Linked DNA regions of Homo sapiens: region 1 is linked to region 2. The links are contacts of gene promoters, found by promoter capture Hi-C in human tissues and cell types (Jung and others, 2019). All regions are on one chromosome and are shown on one strand. The core of a region is centred on a gene start or on the middle of the fragment in contact, and the rest is flanking DNA. Distances in the headings are between cores, read along the strand shown.

Region 1 (2,700 bases), core at 100-2,599, 1.9 Mb after region 2:
CTCGCGCCTCCTTTGTCTTAGGCCAGCGGTCCCCCTTTGTGCTCCTTTCGTGGCCTCTGATGCGTTCCACCTCCTTCCCTGTGTGAAAGGAAAATAAAATCTCAGGACCCCAAACTTACTATGACAAAGGGAAAAGTTAAGCTTGGAAACTGAGTCACGGAAAAAAACTGCTTTTCCTTTTGTTCCTAAACCGATAGCTGCAAGATAGAAAGCAACATATGCCCCCAGGTGGCCTCCCTCACCCTGGCAATGGAAACGAACAGCCGAGCTTCACCGGACAAGACTAGAAATCGTTCCTCCACCCACCCAGAGACAAAGCATATTTGACTTCTTCCTCTACTGTATGTCTACCTTATCTTGTGTAAAATGCAGATTTACTGAGCACGAGACAAATTCATAATTGACTTCCTCTTTTCACGTGCAACATGTGGATTCAGTGAGCTCTAATCAAATCCTCACAAGAATGTGGCCACTTACCTCACCACATACCCTCCCTCTTCTCTCCTCCTTCCCCTCCTGCCAGCTTTCTCCCCATTAAATTGAAGCCCTCAAAACCCTCTTTGGTAAAAGTGCGAGCCACGGATCCTACTGTGGCTTGTGTGTCTTTTTCCTGGGTGCATCCTCAACCTTAGCAAAATAACCCCTAAATTGGTTGAGACCTATCTCAGATGCTTTTTTGGTTTACACCTGTTAGATTTCCTTGACGCAGGCCACTGTACCCGAGACTTGTTCATAGCTGCCCCTTAATAGGGCTTTGGCATTTGAATGAGATCCAGCTCCTTAAAGGGGACTTATATTTTTCTTTTGCTGTAGCTACTACTTCAGAAATTTTTGAAAGCAGGGAGGAGCCATCTCAGAGGAGGCTGCCTCCCCAACACATTCCACCTTGCACTGAAAGCTGCTCGGCTCTGGGCTCTGCATCTGGAAACTTGGGTTTTGCTTCAAACTTATTTCTTCCAATAGTCATTTCTTCCCATAGGCCCCCAGAACTTTTTTTTTCTTGATACATTTTTCCTGTCAATGGCATTTAATTAGTTGTATTATAGAAAACCACTTTACATCCCCGTTTCTACCACGGTGCAAGTTTCTCAAAAACATTGACTTAGTGCAGCAGAATTCTGGGGAGGGGTGGAAGAAAAAGCGGGACTACAGGGCATAGGACAGGGTTTGGCTCTTTGGAGTGTTGAGTATATGTATATGTTTAATGAATGAAAAAAGAAGAGGAGGACGGGCGCGGTGGCTCATGCCTGTAATCCTACCACTTTGGGAGGCCGAGGTGGGTGGGTCACCTGAGGTCAGGAGTTCAAGACCAGCCTGGCCAATATGGCAAAACCCCGTCCCTACTAAAAATACAAAAAAATTAGCTGGATGTGGTGGCAGGCGCCTGTAATCCCAGCTACTTGGGAGGCTGAGGTAGGAGAATCGCTAGAACCCCGGGGGTGGAGGTTGCAGTGAGCTGAGATCATGTCACTGCACTCCAGCCTGGGTAACAGAGAAAGACTCTGTCTTAAAAAAAAAAAAGAGGAATGATTTCTTCTTATGTTACAGGGGGCCCTTGCAAGATTCCAGCTGGTATGAGCCTTCTGCAGAGCTAGTGCAGACTAGGATGGCTGTATCACTAACAGCAGCTGAAACTCTGGCCCTTCAGGGTACACAGGGACAAGAGAAGATGATGATGATGGGACCAAAGGAAGAGGAACAGTCTTGTGAGTATGAGACCAGGCTACCTGGGAACCACTCTACCAGTCAAGAGATCTTCCGCCAACGCTTCAGGCATCTCCGCTACCAGGAGACTCCTGGTCCCCGGGAGGCCTTGAGCCAACTACGAGTACTCTGCTGTGAGTGGCTGAGGCCAGAGAAACACACGAAGGAGCAGATCCTGGAGTTCCTGGTGCTGGAACAATTCTTGACCATCCTGCCTGAGGAGCTCCAATCCTGGGTGCGGGGACATCACCCTAAGAGTGGAGAGGAGGCTGTGACTGTGCTGGAGGATTTAGAGAAAGGACTTGAACCAGAGCCGCAGGTGGGAAGGGGGATTTGGTCTGTTATGGGAGCCAGATTGATGACCTTCAGGCTGGACCGAGGGGCAGCTGTAGGGGGAGGTGCCAAGTTCAAACCTCTCTTGGGCCAGGTAGAGCAGTTAGTATGTGTTTCTGTGTCTGTCTTTTCTGCCCTCGAGCCCTGAATGAGAAAGAGACTCTAGCTCCTCTTCTTCCCTTGTGCTGACTCTGAGGAGGCTCTCTAAAGTCTCCTTGGAAGCTTTGGTCCAAGGAGGGTCACATCTGCAAGTGTCCAGGCAGGGGACAGAAACCACACTAGTAATTTGAAGAAAATTTAAACTGAGTGGTGCCTGATCACCTCCAGGTCCCAGGCCCTGCACATGGACCTGCACAGGAAGAGCCATGGGAGAAGAAGGAATCTCTGGGAGCAGCCCAGGAAGCACTGAGCATCCAGCTCCAGCCTAAGGAGACCCAGCCTTTCCCAAAGAGTGGTGAGGAGCAGGATTCTGTGGGGAGGGAGAGGAGAAAGAGGGACTATAAAGGGCACAGTACCTAGTACCTGTAAAGGGTAAATAGTAGTAGGTGCTTAAATGTTTGGTATCATCACAGCCTTACTATTCTTATCTCTTAGGTGAGAGACTTTGCCTGTTTCATCACTCATAAAATTAGGAGTAAGAATAAACTACCTCATAAGATAGCT
Region 2 (2,700 bases), core at 168-2,667:
CTAAGCACCGGGCCTCCCAGACGTAATTCTGACCCTAGGCCTCGCCACCTCCCACCTGCTCCCAGCCCGCCTCCCCCACCCGAATACTTACTCAAAATCTTTCTCCGTGAAGGGAACGTCCTCAATCAACACAGCGGAATGGACATTGAAAAATATTCCGAGCATTATCTGGAAAAGGGGAATGGGTAGACTGTTGAATTCAGGCACCTGACCTCATGTTCACTTCGTAAACCCCTCCCATTTCCAATGTTGCTACAACACCCGAGCCTGAGATTAACCAAAACGAGGTGGTGGTTACTGGATTCGGACTCAGCCACCTGGAACAGGGCGTGAGGTGGTGACATTGAGACAAGTGGTCGAGGCAAGGGTGGGAATAGTGACCAAGCCATCTCTCCCAGGAACCCAGATTATCGTCCTCTCTGGAGGCGTCATCATCACGGGACAGTGCGGAAGAGGGGAGGGAGAACCGGCACTTCTTCATATCATTTCTTCTTGAAGTGGCGGTGGGTGGATTACTGGGAAAACAAGGCCCAGCTACACATTTCTGGAACAAGCACTCTCTTTTCCTCCCATGTCCTCCATTCAACTCAAGCACCTCTCAGGCACCCCGCTCTTGTTTCTCCTACCTTGAGGGGTCTCCACCTTTACCAGCCCTGGCTCCTCCCACTCCAGGGCCCTCCGCTCCAGTTCCCTTTTTTCTTTTTCTTTGGGGACGGAGTCTCGCTCTGTCACCCAGGCTGGAGTGCAGTGGCGCGATCTCGGCTCACTGCACCCTCCGCCTCCCGGATTCAAGCGATTCTCCTGCCTCAGCCTCCTGAGTAGCTGGGATTACAGGCGGGCGCCACCACGCCCGGCTAATTTTTGTATTTTTATTGGAGACGGGGTTTCACCATGTTGGTCAGGCTGGTCTCGAACAGTTCCCATTTTTCAATTTCAGTCTGTCTCCTTCTCCGGGGCCTGTAGATCCCCGGCCCCTCCGGCCTGCCTGCGGCCCAGAGTTTCCTCGCCTCCCAGCCCTCCCAGCCCGGAGCCCCTCAGGCCCTCTCCGATCCTTGCCGGGGAGTCCCCTCACCAACATGATCACTCCCCAGGCGCTGAGGACGATGCCGCAGGCGGCCAGCTTCGGCCCACAGCACAGGAGCGACGCCATAAAGAAGGGAGTCGGGGATCGCCGAGGTGCAAGCGGGCTCGGAAAGCGGTGGGAGAAAGCCCAGGATGCCCTCGCAGGGGGGCAGAGGGGGCGTGGCCCCGGCCTCAACCATCCCATCCGGGGGCGGCAGGCGGAAAAGGCTGGGCTCCTCTCAGGACTTTCGCGGGAGACGGCGCCGTCTGAAACCAAAACTGCTCCTGGGGAAACCTTCCTTGACCTCTGTAGCTAGGGCGTGAGTATTGGAAGAGCGAGGGCCTCCGGTTTGTTGGTCCCCCTCCCCCCGCACACGGGAATGGAAGGAGCTGGTATGTCACGTGACCAAGCCTGTCACGTCACGTGACGAGGAACTAGCCTTAGCGAGGCCATGGGGGAAAAAGTCTAACTGGCGGAACTCCTGGGAACTGGGGCGATGGGCTCTTAGTATCGGAGGATTGGAGCCATCTGATTTTTACCTGAAATTCCTTAGTCTCTCCTGTGTTGGGGAAATGGTAAGTAAGACAGATTTTCACCAACAGAGAGCGTTTCTATCTCTTCTCTACTCCTCCCTTTTAAAATTGAGATTCTGACAGTGTAAAGGAGTTAGGACCCCCTTTTGGGGATCGGGCATGGTTTTGTGGCTTTAAAATGCTTTAAAATTGCTGAAGTTTCTTGGTATTGGAACTGTTTCTCCTAAGTAACATTTTATCATCGCACGTGAAATACTGTAACTCTCGGTGCCAAATCCAGGAAAAATGGGCGGTTAGGAGAAGTCCAGGGAAAGCCGACTGAGCAGGTTGTGAAGGTAAGCAGTCCTGTTAAATGTACACAAAAATGTCACTTTGCTTCTCTAAACTAGGAAAACTGATAGGACTTTTGAATAAGGTAGGATATAAGATTTAAAAATATAAATAGGTCATCCCCTCCAAAAAAGCCGTTTGTATGTTTAACTGGTGAGTGACAGATCTGTAATAATTATTTAGAAATAGGAATGTCGAGGCGGGCGGATCACCTGAGGTCGGGAGTTCGAGACCAGCCAGGTCAACATGGCGAAACCCTGTCTCTACTAAAAATTACAAAAATTAGCTGGATGTGGTGGCATGAGCTTGTGATCCCAGCCACTCGGGATGGTGAGGCGGGATAATCCCTTGAACCCGGGAGGCGAAGGTTGCAGTGAGCTGAGATGGCGCCACTGCATTCCCGCCTGGGCGATAGAGACTACTTCTAAAAAAAAAAAAAAAAAGAAAAGAAAAGAAGTAGGGATGTTTGAAGAACACAGTTTTGCAGTGAGCAAGTTGTACCCACTCTAGTGAGGACAGTGACCTCAGAATAATTGAGAGGGATCATTTGACCTTGAGACCCCAGGACCTAACAAATAAACACTATCATTGGCTAGAATAACTTTGTAGTTCTTGTCCATTTATTTTGTGCATGTTGTTCTTAAAAGGCTTGTGAAAGATAACTTGGAATGTGGGAAACACATAGATCCCAGAGTATTAAAGGGGCTGGAAAAGTAGCCTTAAGACATGAATTATGTGCCTTTCATCTGGGACTGTTTGGAGAAAGAAGCCATT

What was found. Contacts are between HindIII fragments. The study calls those that stand out against the background at their distance.
Region 1: a fragment that was not itself captured here is called in contact with the fragment with the promoter of RNASEK-C17orf49 in region 2 in 1 of the 25 tissues and cell types used here (aorta).

What each region holds. Positions count from the first base shown.
Region 1 is chr17:5,108,717-5,111,416 of GRCh38, reverse strand. ZNF232 (zinc finger protein 232) reads left to right here. Exons shown (of 4, transcript NM_014519.6): 2 at 1,549-2,023; 3 at 2,365-2,491. Among named protein-coding and RNA genes, the nearest start is that of ZNF232, 1.8 kb to the left of the region's middle. The HindIII fragment of the contact is 5,086 bases long and covers 1-2,700 here.
Region 2 is chr17:7,011,134-7,013,833 of GRCh38, reverse strand. RNASEK-C17orf49 (RNASEK-C17orf49 readthrough) reads right to left here and starts at 1,417. Exons shown (of 8, transcript NR_037717.1): 1 at 1,077-1,417; 2 at 92-168. It overlaps RNASEK (ribonuclease K), which reads right to left and starts at 1,210. Exons shown (of 3, transcript NM_001004333.5): 1 at 1,073-1,210; 2 at 92-168. The coding sequence starts at 1,150. It overlaps ALOX12-AS1 (ALOX12 antisense RNA 1), which reads left to right and starts at 1,500. Exons shown (of 3, transcript NR_040089.1): 1 at 1,500-1,638. RefSeq lists enhancers at 770-949, 1,030-1,149, 1,229-1,849. The HindIII fragment of the contact is 15,519 bases long and covers 1-2,700 here.